Regions from separate parts of the Homo sapiens genome. Here all the other regions are linked to region 2. Evidence: promoter capture Hi-C in human tissues and cell types (Jung and others, 2019). All regions are on one chromosome and are shown on one strand. Each heading gives the region's core, a stretch centred on a gene start or on the middle of the fragment in contact. The rest is flanking DNA. Distances are from core to core; before and after follow the strand shown. Region 1 has its middle 92 kb from the start of NTNG2. Region 2 holds the start of MED27 (mediator complex subunit 27). Region 3 overlaps MED27 (mediator complex subunit 27). Region 4 overlaps MED27 (mediator complex subunit 27).

Evidence for each region. Contacts are between HindIII fragments. The study calls those that stand out against the background at their distance.
Region 1: a fragment that was not itself captured here is called in contact with the fragment with the promoter of MED27 in region 2 in 1 of the 25 tissues and cell types used here (IMR-90 fibroblasts).
Region 3: a contact is called between a fragment that was not itself captured here and the fragment with the promoter of MED27 in region 2, in 2 of the 25 tissues and cell types used here (hippocampus and lymphoblastoid cells).
Region 4: a contact is called between a fragment that was not itself captured here and the fragment with the promoter of MED27 in region 2, in 1 of the 25 tissues and cell types used here (dorsolateral prefrontal cortex).

Annotation. Positions count from the first base shown.
Region 1 is chr9:132,252,745-132,255,722 of GRCh38, reverse strand. No RefSeq gene overlaps it. Among named protein-coding and RNA genes, the nearest start is that of NTNG2, 92 kb to the right of the region's middle. The HindIII fragment of the contact is 6,941 bases long and covers 1-2,978 here.
Region 2 is chr9:132,078,263-132,081,397 of GRCh38, reverse strand. It overlaps MED27 (mediator complex subunit 27), which reads left to right and starts at 1,531. Exons shown (of 8, transcript NM_004269.4): 1 at 1,531-1,756. The coding sequence starts at 1,554. RefSeq lists an enhancer at 1,355-1,634. The HindIII fragment of the contact is 14,332 bases long and covers 1-3,135 here.
Region 3 is chr9:131,936,248-131,939,322 of GRCh38, reverse strand. All of the region lies in intron 4 of MED27 (mediator complex subunit 27), which reads left to right. Among named protein-coding and RNA genes, the nearest start is that of MED27, 140 kb to the left of the region's middle. The HindIII fragment of the contact is 5,314 bases long and covers 1-3,075 here.
Region 4 is chr9:131,888,715-131,891,643 of GRCh38, reverse strand. The region is part of intron 5 of MED27 (mediator complex subunit 27); the gene reads left to right. Among named protein-coding and RNA genes, the nearest start is that of RAPGEF1, 150 kb to the right of the region's middle. RefSeq lists an enhancer at 1,733-2,264. The HindIII fragment of the contact is 5,573 bases long and covers 1-2,929 here.

The DNA of each region.
Region 1 (2,978 bases), core at 140-2,639, 170 kb before region 2:
GCTCTGTCACCCAGGCTGGAGTGCAGTGGCACAATCTCTGCTCACTGCAACCTCCGCCTCCAGGGTTCCAGTGACTCTCTTGCCTCAGCCTCCTGAGTAGCTGGGATTACAGGCACCTGCCACCAGGCCCAGCTAATTTTTGTTTTTGTTTTCTTTTGAGATGGAGTCTCACTCTGTCGCCCAGGCTGGACTGCAGTGGCACAATCTCTGCTCACTGCAGCCTCCGCTGCCCTGGATCCAGAGATTCTCCTGCCTCAGCCTCCTGGGGAGCTGGGATTAAAGGCATGTGTCATCACATGTGGCTAATTTTTGTACTTTTAATAGAGACAGGTTTTCGCCATGTTGGCCAGGCTCGTCTCAAACTCCTGACCTCAGGTGGTCCACCCACCTCAGCCTCCCAAAGTGCTAGGATTACAGGTATAAGCCACCGCGCCTGGCCTGTTTCTTATCCAAATTTTTATTTTGAAAATTTTAAGTTTAAAGAAAAGTTGAAATAGTACAAGGAATATCTAAATAGCCATTGCCCAGATTCACCAATCTCACCACATTGCACTCCCTTGTTTCTTTTTTTCTTTTTTTAGAGACGGGGTCTCGTGATGTTGCCCAGGCTGTCATGAGCTCCTCTGTCTACGTGTTCAGTTTTCATTGAGCAATCTGAAAGTATGCTATGGTGTCATGCTATTCCACTCCCAAACACTTCACCATGTATCTCTATGGAATAAGGACATTTTTCTTCCTTTTTTTTTTTTTGAGACGGAGTCTCGCTCTGTCTCCCAGGCTGGAGTGCAGTGGCGCGATCTCTACTCACTGCAAGCTCCGCCTCCCGGGTTCACGCCATTCTCCTGCCTCAGGCTCTGGAGTAGCTGGGACTACAGGCGCCCGCCACCACGCCCGATTAATTTTTCTGTATTTTTTTAGTAGAGACGGGGTTTCACCGTGTTAGCCAGGATGGTCTCGATCTCCTGACCTCGTGATCCACCCGCCTCGGCCTCCCGAAGTGCTGGGATGACAGGCGTGAGCCACCGCGCCCGGCTGGAATAAGGACATTTTTCTACATGATCACAACACTATTATCACATCTAAACTTGATATAATAACACGAGCTAATATATCATCCATAGTTACAATTCTGCAATGGTCCTAAGATGTCCTTTATTGCTGATTTTTTTTTTTGTTTTTTTGTTTTTTTTTTTTGAGACAGAGTCTCACTCTGTCGCCCAGGCTGGAGTGCAGTGACGCAATCTTGGCTCACTGCAACCTCCGTCTCCCGGGTTCAAGCGATTCTTCTGCCTCAGCCTCCTGAGTATCTGGGATTACAGGGACACGCCACCACGCCTGGCTAATTTTTGTATTTTTAGGAGAGACAGGTTTTCACCATATTGGCTAGGCTGGTCTCGAACTCCTGACTTCGTGATCCATGCACCTCGGCCTCCCAAAGTGCTTGGATTACAGACATGAGCCACCGTGCCTGGCCTATTGCTATATTTTTTTTTTTAAAAAGGATTTGATTTGGATCCAACATAGAATCATGCACTGTGCGTGGCTGTCCTGTATCTAGTTTTCCTCATTCAGAACAACTCCACTCCCTTTTTATTTTATTTTTTGTTGGTCTTTCACAATATTGGCATTTTTATTTATTTTCTTGTTTTTACTATTATTTTTTCCAACATAAGCCTTCCTGCACACGTATGGGCATTGTTGAGGAGTGCAGGCCGGTTATCTTAGAGAACGCCTCACTATCTGAGTTTGTCCGATTGTTTCCTCGTGCGTAGAGTCAGGTTACATATTTGGGGGAAGAACACTGTGTCAGTGGTGGTGTGTCTTTCCTGTGCTGTTGTATCACGAGCACAAAATATGTTTGTCCCGTTATTGGTGGCATTGAGTTGGTCACTTGCTCCAGGGGGTGTCCACAAGCTTCCCGTCTTTGTAATTAATCAGCCATCTGTGGGGTAAAACTCCGCGGCCGTGGGAGTGCGCTGTGGCCCACAGGTCCTTCACCAGTGCCTTGAGCATCTGTCTATGAGCCTGCCTGAATCCGCTGCCACACTGGAGGCTAAAAACTTCAAATTTTCTTTTTTCTTTTTTTTTTTTGAGGCAGAGTTTCACTCTTGTTGCCGAGGCTGGAGTACAATGGTGCAATCTCAGCTCATTGCAACCTCTGCCTCCCAGGTTCAAGTGATTCTCCCGTCTCAGCCTCCCAAGTAGCTGGGATTACAGGCATAAGCCACCACACCTGGCTAATTTTTTGTATCTATTAAGCAGGCACTCCCCCTTCTCCCCTCCCCAAGCCCCTGGCGAACACCAGTCTACTTACTGTCCCCATGGATTTGCCTATTCTGGGCATTTCATAGAAAAGGATGATACATTTTTTGACCTTTTGTGTCTGGCTTCTTCCGTGTGGCGTAATATATATATATATATATTTTTTCAGACAGAGTGTTGCTCTGTCACCCAGGCTGGAGTGCAATGGTGCGATCTCACCTCACTGCAACCTCTGCCTCCTGGGTTCAAGCAATTCTCCTTCCTCAGCCTCCCAAGTAGCTGGGATTACAGACACCCACCACCACCCCTGGCTAATCTTTTGTATTTTTAGTAGAGATGGGGTTTCACCATGTTGGCCAGGCTGGTCTTTGTGGGCAGCAAGCCACTCAGGTGCCAAGGCAAGAGACCAAGGGCACGAGCTGTTCCAGTGTAATAAAATATATAAAATAACAAGAATTATACTAGATCTAGATCATAGATATGATTATATATGAATATCATTAATCATTAGTTTGTAGCAATTACTCTTCATTCCAATGTTATAATAATCCTTGCTCTACAATCATAACCTAAGAAAAACCAGGCCATACAGAGATACGAGCTAAAGGTGCATGGTGAGAAGTGACCAGAAGACGTGTGAGCCCTCTGTCATGCCCAGACAGGGCCACCAGAGGGCTCCTTGGTCTAGCGGTAACGCCAGCGTCTGGGAAGACACC
Region 2 (3,135 bases), core at 282-2,781:
CCATCCCCCCTTATGTTTACATTAATGAATTGTTTAAAATTTTTTGGTAAAATATACATAATATAAAATCAACCATTTTCACTGTTTCTAAGTGTCCAGTTCTGTGGCATTAAGTACAATCACATTGTTGTATGGCCATCACCACCATCCAGCTGTAAAACTTTTCCAAGTCTGTACTCTTTAAGTACAGACTTAAATATGGCCCTTTGCAATATTATGCTGAAATCTTCCTCTCTACAGCCTTCCTACAACTGGTTATTGTTATTGCCACTAGTTAACCAAGGAGGACTCTTGTCTTGGGTTGACATGAAGGTGAGTTGAAGGTCACAATCATGATCTGCCTCCTGCTCTCCTCTTCTCTGCTCCAAGCTATGCAACCCCAGCTCCTCTAAGGAAAGAACATGAGGACTTGGGCAGGTTCCCTTTAGTAAAAAGATAATAAATTTTCAGAAACCTGTCTATAGCCAACAGGACAAAGAGACATTGAATTTTTCCATAAAGCCAGATTTGGCCAACATTTTGTTGGTTTTATTTAAATCCCAAACCTTCTCTTTCTTCCACAACCTCTATGCTATGTATGTTATTTTCAGAGGTGTGTGTTCACTGTAAACCAGCCACCATTCTACTTTCTGTCTCTAACATTTTGACTACCCTAAACACCTCATATAAGTGGAGTCACACAGAATTTTGTTTTTTTGTGACTGGCTTATTTCACTTAGCATAATGTCTTCAAGTTTCCTCCAGGTAGCATATGTCAGAATTTTCTTGCTTAAGCCTGAAGAATTTTTCATTGTATGCCAGTATCACACTTTGTTTATTCATCAGTTTATGGACACTTGGGTTTCCCCTGCCTTTTGGCTATTTGGTGAATAATGCTGTTATGAACATGTGTACAGGTATTGAGTCCCTGCTTTCGCTTCTTTTGGGTATATGCCCAGAAGTGGAATCTCTGGATCATTATTTTCCTCTTCTTAATTAATAAGCATCTTGGGGGACGATACTTTGAGATTACCTAAAAAGCCTGTTATTTTTCTGACACTTTCACCCACTAGTTTTAGCATCCATCGATTTCTATCTGAATCAATTATTCTAATGGCTGTCAAATGGCAATTTTCTAATTCCATCACTCTTTCTGCATTTATGAGCTGGCATTCTATTGGAAAGAAGAAACTTTCCTTCTCCCCGCTTTATTTATGAATATGGACTCATTTTATTGAATGGGCTATGTTCCTTTCCTTTTTACACTATTGCTCTGAGCAATTCTTTTCCCTATGATTCCCCAGAGTGCAAGTTTGGGGAAATGCGGGAACTTTCTGTATTTCTTTGTCACCATTAAGCAAACCGGGAGTGCAACCTGACTTCCCCAAGTTGAGAAAAATCACTTTCCTGCCCATGCATTAGTTTAGCTCAAGGGGAAACCCTTTTTCGAAAGTGCTTTCTGGGTAGCCCCGCGCGAACTGCATTTCCCAGAGGTCTTCGGAGATACGTCATCAGCGAGCGCGGCTTTTTTGCTTGCGAAGCCGGCTTTGGAGAGCTGCTGTGGCGGCGGCAACATGGCGGACGTGATAAATGTCAGTGTGAACCTGGAGGCCTTTTCCCAGGCCATTAGTGCCATCCAGGCGCTGCGCTCCAGCGTGAGCAGGGTGTTCGACTGCCTGAAGGATGGGATGCGGAACAAGGAGACGCTGGAGGGCCGGGAGAAGGCCTTTATTGCGCACTTCCAGGACAACTTACATTCGGTCAACCGGGACCTCAAGTAGGTACCGGCTGAAGGGGCCGGGGTCGGGGACCGGCCCCGCTCCGACCCTGCCCCTACGTCGCTCGAGTCTTCCCAGGCAGGGGCTGTTCTCCGTTTCCCTTGATCCCTGTTCTTTCTCTTCTTGTTCTCCAAGCCTCTGCCTGTCCCTCAGGGACATCTTAACACCATCCCCGCTTTCTCGTCTTGCTTCTCCTGGCCTCCTGGTCCTGTTTGTCTTCCGCCATCCTCGACCTCTTCTGTGGCGGTTCCATTCCTAACAAGGAGGCATGCTTTTCCCATGAACTTCCACTTCTCTGAGCTTGGCAGGTTTCTCACCTGTAGGCCCTCTGTGCCCCATCACGTCTGATCCGAATGTAGTAATAGTACAGACAGGACCTGGTCAGTCGGCTCCAAACCCAAGTGCACCCGATCTGATTAGCCCCAATTCCCCGGCCCTGAACTTGGACTTCATCAGTTCCACCACCACCCACCCGCAACCACGACGGACCGGCCAGGCCTTGAGCTGTCTTCACCTTTTCCCCTAACCGCTCCCAAACCACCTGATCAGTTTCCTCACTCCCACTCCTGTGGGAGTTCCTTCCGCAGTAGAGACCTACTCTCTAATCTCTTAACCAGTTTAATTACTTATGCTTAACGCCCCTGCTTCTTAATTTGTAGTCTTTTAGGGTTAAGGATTCCACTTTTCCTCCTCTTCCTTACAAAGTACCTTCTTCACTTACACTTTTTAAGTGTTGTAAGAATTAAATGAGAGGATGTTTGTAAAGGGCCTGGCACATAGTAGGCACTTCTTGATTGCTTAGGTCCTGAACTTGCCTTCTGTTTTATAAGAGAGTCAGTCCTTCCCAGGAAGGTTAGAATTTCAGGATTTTTGCCTTTTACTTCTCAGAACTGACCTGAGTAGGGGAAAGCATTTGGTGAGCTAGTCATCCTTTGATTTCTGGACTGGTTGGATTTTTGTTTTTTCAACTTGGTCTCCTTAGTAACCAGATGGAAAGAGGAGGTAGGATGGAGGAGGAGGAGGAGGAGGTGGCCAAATGATGGGTGCCTTTTTGTTTTCCCCCTAAGTAGTTGCCGTAAATCACACAGCCCTCCTCAACGCCCACATCCGCTTGCTGTTCTCTGGCACCGCGCCGAGCACCAGTTAATACTTTCTCTGCTTCAGGGGATGCACTGGCTATTCTTCCCTATCTTCTGTTTTCTTTCCATTTTCTCTCCGAGTTACTTCCCTTTGTAATGTTCAGGATATTATAACCCTTCACCATTTTAAATAGAAACTTTAAGAGTGCTGACATTATCCTTTTGCCTTCTTAAATCTTTGTACAGTAGTGCCAAGAAGAAGGTGGCTGATGATTCCAAAATGAATGTGGCATAAGAAG
Region 3 (3,075 bases), core at 374-2,873, 140 kb after region 2:
AACTCTCTGGTCCTGTGTTGTAGGATCTAGAGAATGGGGATTAAATTCCAATTTGATAGTGAATAACATAGTTTCTTTACTGGCATTCTGTAGGTTAAGAATTCTGCACATTGAAACCTTGCTTTTGAACAAAATTTCAGACCCCATGTAAGACTTAACCAGAGAGGAAAGACACTGTAAGACCATTTCACCTTAAGTCACTTAATGCAACCTCCCAATGTTTTGGCGAATCTGTTTTCTATTTTCCCCAAAGGAGTATAGTAGACAATAGTGATGCTCAACTGTTGGATCCTGCTAAAGAAAACACTCTCGCCAGGCGCGGTGACTCACGCCTGTAATCCCAGCACTTTGGGAGGCTGAGGCGGGCGGATCACGAGGTCAGGAGATCGAGACCATCCTGGCTAACACAGTGAAACCCCATCTCTACTAAAAATACAAAATATTAGCCGGGTGTGGTGGTGGGTGCCTGTAGTCCCAGCTGCTGGGGAGGCTGAGGCAGGAGAATGGCATGAACCTGGGAGGCGGAGCTTGCAGTGAGCCGAGATCACTCCACTGCACTCTCCAGCCTGGGTGACAGAGCAAGACTCCTTCTCAAAAAAAAAAAGAAAAAAAAAGAAAACACTCTCTTAATATAAAACCAGAATATTATGTATTTGAAGAAAGTGTTCTGAGACTGATGACTTCTGGTTTTGCTGTTTCTGATTATGGTTTGCTCTGAACACATCGCCTCATAATCTCCTAGAAGATGTTTGTATTTGCATGAATTCACCGAAGACAGGTGTGTTTTGGAAATACAGTGGGATAGAAATGCTAAATTATGTTATTAATTAGGAAGGCATAGAGACCTCAATGATGAGAAGCTTTTCTAGTGGTCTGTGTAATAATACTTGTATGTGCTTGAAGAATACTTCCCTGAACACAGATTTTTGAGGAACCACCACATTTTATAAAAAGCAGAGTTTATTGAATAAGAATGATGGTTTCGATGGGCGTCAGGGAGGTAAGGTTCAGGACTGGGTATTTTTTCCATCTATTCTGCTGTTGCTGCTTTGGAGCCTAGTGTGAACTCCCCATATTTTAGCATTTTACTTGTGTGAAATCTTATAAATAGCCAGTCACCCAGGATGAGTTACTGTTTACTCCAGCCGTTCATCTTCGGGGAGCATTGTGTGTGCGTGCGTGTTTTGGTCTTAAGACAGGAAAAGATCTGGGCTTGTTAAATGTTTGTTACTTCGTTTGTGGGGGAAACAAATTAGTGACATTCACCTGGATAACATAATATTTAAAAAATTTCTTTCAGTTAAAACATAAAGAAAAGGAGATAATGCGATGTTTTTTTCATAGAAAAGGGAAACAGTTTTCTTCATATAAAATACATCTGTCTACAGAACACAAAATATCGTCTGCCTCCAGAGGTTGCAGTGAGCTGAGATCGCGCCATTGCACTCCAGCCTGGGCAAAAGAGCGAGACTCTGTCTCAAAAAAAAAAAAAAGTCTGCCTCAGTTAAATGTACAAATTGCCCAGATTTTAAGATACCCCAGACCTAGCAGTTGAAACATAAACCCTGCTCTCAGCATACCTGACAGGGCCCCAGAGAGTTAATGAAGATAAAAATGAATGCATCCTCAGTGAAATAGGTTTGTTCAAATTATTTCTGGGTCATTGAGCTCCCATTTCATAATGAGGGTGGGATTTGGCATTGAAGGGAATGAGCAGAGGGAACAGGATTCCAGGCAAACAGGCCACACAGATGAGTTCCTTCCACCTGAGAAGGCAGGCATGTATTTCACAGTGATGGTCGACCTCGCCTGCTTTCCCATGGAGCTTCTGTCCTAATAGACTGATGAGAGAGTTTAGGGGCTCAATTCAAGGCAAGAATCACATTTCATATGCCCTGTTTATTTACTACCACTAACACCCATCCACCCCCGCTAATTCAGACACGTGGATCTAGGTGCCTACTTGTTACCTTTCTTCAGCGACACAGGAACTCACAGAAGCTGGTGCTTACTTACAGGGCCAGTGGTAGGTGATTTGATTCAGAATCAGATTGCCATGGGCCATGGGGTTAATCATACTTTTAACATAATGCCTGCATTTGGCATTTACTATTAAAAGTTGGAATTTTATGAGATGGCAAATCTCTAGGCTATTCACTGCTACCACATCCATCGTGAGGTGGGTGATGGGAATTCCTACCTGGAGGGGGAGCAGGACCAACAGATGCCACCTCCCCCACTACCTACTGCTAGTCACCTGTTCCCCAAAAAGTGTTTTCTGGAGATGAATCTGGAATAAATTGATTTATTCTGGAATGCAGTGTATTCCTGAAGGCTTTGGGGGCAAGCGAGACTGATGGGGAAAGACCAGTTAAGAGGCCGTTGAAGCAGGGTGCACTTGAGCAGTCTCAGCTGACACCTTCCTTTACCTCCCTCGGCAAATGTACGAACTGTGCCTGTGCTTTTGAAATAAAACGGCATTTCCTCCTGAATTGGCTGGGCTTCCTTGAATGCAGTCAACAGAAACTCTGATTGACTTACATAAGGAAAGAGTTGGTTTTGGTTTTGCTGTTTGATGGTGCCAGGTGCATCAGACTCAGTGATTAATCTGACCTGCCCGGCAGGACAAAAACCAGAGTAGCTCCAGGCATGTCAGGAACAAGATCAGGACAACGTTTTTTAGGGGGCCCCATGGCCCAAATGATTCCGTATTAACCGCCTTCCATCCCTGTGCATACAACCTGGGAAGAACACTCCTGCTGGCCTAGCCTGCAGTTGCTCCTTGCCCTGAGCCCAGAGGATGGGGGAGTCAGGCCTTGGCAGCCCCACAGAACTGCAAGGAGTGGAGGGGAAGTAATTCCCTAGAGGAACCAGCCGTCTGTATGGCACAGTGAACGTCTGTGTGGACAGAGTCTTGTGGCTTACACAGCACTTATCTCATCTGGTCCTCACTGTGGCCCTCGAGGTGGGTAGCACCAACTGTGCTCATCTGACAAGTAGGAAATGGAGGCAGTTGTTTCCCGTGGCTGCGGGGACACCTATCCCTATCTCCCCAAGCCTCCAGGATGCTGTCCT
Region 4 (2,929 bases), core at 360-2,859, 190 kb after region 2:
GGATATTAATAGATGTTAGGCAGAAAGCAATGCATGGTCAAACAAGTTTGAGAAACTCTGGGTTAGAGAAAGTTCAGTGGGTTTCTTTACTGTGGAAACCAGTTTGCTGATGTGCCTTATGAATATCTTACAGGGAGTAGAGAGTATGCAATATTTTCCTAACTTATTTGGCCACCAAATTCTTTTTATCTTCTTTTATTCTTAGAGCATATTGTGACATTGCCATTTTGTAGAATATACTTCTGAAAACTCTGGCTTGTAGCATAAAATCCAGACTCCTCTGCAAGGCGTCTAAATGCCTCATGGCGCAGCCTCTGCCTTCCTTTCTGACTTCATCTGGCATCATTCTCTACACACACCTCATCTTATCTCCAGCCGCGTGCTCCCTGTAGCTTCCATGACATGCCAGACTCTTTCACGTATTTGCACGTTTTGTGCCTTTTGCCCTGGGATCCCTCCTAGTCCAGCTGACAAAGTTTTACTCTTCCCTTTACAGTGGCTGAATGCCATCTTCCTTCCCATCCTGTCTCCATTTTCCCAAGAGCCTCTTTGCTTATGAACATGGGCTCTAGAGATGGCCGACCTGGGTTTGCCTCTCCTTACAGCACAGAGTTATCATCATTATCCATACACCCATAGAATTCAGAACAATCTTTTCCTAGTACTAGAATTGGTGCATCATGATTATTTACATGTCCATCTTGCAATTAATAAAAATACTAACAATACTAACATACGTTGGTCAGGCAGGCACTGCACAAAGCGAACTTTGCCCACGGTGGCTGTCGAATCCTCCTCACAGCATCATGAGACAGGTGCTGCTCTTAGACTCATCTTACACATGGAGAAACTGAGACCTAGAATGGTAACGTTGCCCACAGCCACACAGGGCTGGATCTCAATCCTGCATCTACCAGGAGCTCCTCAAGGGCACAGGCTCCATCGTGTGACTGTCTGTCTGTAGGGTGCACTTCTGTGCCAGGAGCACGGTAGGAGCCCAGTCCTGTCTGGGAGGAGATGATGAAAAAGCCTACTTGGGATATGAAAATGCTTAAGCTGGAATGGAAAGTGGAGAATCAAAAATGAGAAATGGGGACTAAAAGGAGCGGCAGTAATTGAAGTTGTAAATAAGTCAGAGGATAAAGGAGACACACGAGTAAAGGGAGACCTCAGGCCCTCCTGATGAGAGATTAGCCCGGCCTCTCTCTTTCTCCGAAGGAAAATGGCTGTACATTTGGGACCCTGGTTGACATCAGAAATGTGGTTGGACAGGAAGCCTTGCGTCCCCCTTTACAACTGTATGCGTTGGCCCAAGCAGTGCTTAAGCAGGGACCCTAAAAGTGGAAATTGCAAGACCGAGAGAACCAGGCCTCTTTGTTATTTTAAGGACACACTGACCACATTTGGCAGAGAAGCTCTCAAATGACTGTTCCACTCAGAATCTCATCCTAGCCAATTTGATTAGCCCCTTTTTTTCAGAGCACTTCACAAATGATAAAAATAAACCATGCAGACATTATTAGTGCTCTATTTTGAGTACTCTGTGTGTGTGTACTTTATTTATATACAATCTAGGCATTAGTGCAATTAATGTGTTGAATTGTCTGGCACATCCCAAATGAAATGTGGCGTCTGGAAGGAGCCCTTGGGGCCTGACATGTGTTCTACAAGAGCACGTTGTTGCTGGAGACGTCGCTGCTCCCGGGACGCAGCCTGCGTTTGCTGAGTTGGTGCCTAGGTGGCTGCAGGGGGGTGTTTTGCTGCAGTCTCCTGGAGCACAGCCACAGAGGCCCTGGGTGTGGCTCAGGAAGCCTCCTATGGGCTTAACTTCTGCCTCTGCGGTTGTCTCTGTCCTCCAAGCCCAAAGCAACCAGCACATTCGAAAGTTTCATTATCCTTCTTGCTGCTGTAGTGGCCCAGCACCACCCCTAATTTCCAGACCTTGCAGGTTTTTTCCCCATCAGAATCCAGCCCAGCAAGGCTATCACTTTGCACTTTGCACTTTGCTCTAACAACCACCGCCATGACCCTAGCATCCTGTCTCTTTACCTGCAATGCATATTTTTGATACCAAGGACCAATAGCCTGATTCCTCTAATAAAATAAAAATGCTTTTCAGACTTACCAACCACTTATTCATTGTACTCAGGGAGTAGCAAGAGCCACGACTCAGCATGTTAAAAGGCAGGATTGAAGATGAATACCTGGCCATTGTCCTGATTTTATACCAGTCAGACTTAACTGAAAAAAAAATGTGTCTCGTTCGAATTTAACTTTTTGGGGGATTTAGGTTATGTTAATGCTATAGCTTCATTAATTACCCCATATCAATAAAAAAGGCAGCTTTTAGCCTCCGAGCATAAGAGAGGAAAAGAAATGGTGGTATCAAAGGAAACCTTCAAAGACAGCCAGAGCTGTCTCCAGGGTAATTTCTGATCCCTGCATTCTTCCCACTTCAAAGTTGGCTGTGTGTGTGCATGTGGGTCGAGGGGGTGGGGAGCTGAATCTGATTTCTCTAATAAGTGTTGGCATCAGCCCTGTTTGATATCAGATGCAGGGAACATTTTGATTTGTTATAGCCTTTGAAATTGTTCAGATGACCTTCAGAAAAATGGCCTCTTGTTACTTCTAGGGGGAAGGGTGAAAGCCAGGGAAAGGGGAATCCAGTTTAATTCATATGCAGAGGATTCCCTGAAATTGTGCTTTCAGCAGTTTTTTAGTAACAAATGCATGTCCTGATTGAAAGTGAAAAGTTGAAGAATAATAGACCTGTAACACTGTGTTCTTGGGTGAGGCTCTTGTTCACTCTTATTCTCTGGGGAGGGTCAGCAGATTTGAGAGGGTGACCACATAGAAGTTTATGGTTTGGAAAATGTGGGTAACAACATGGAGAGATCCGTCACCATAGCTGGTTTGCAGCATTCTACCC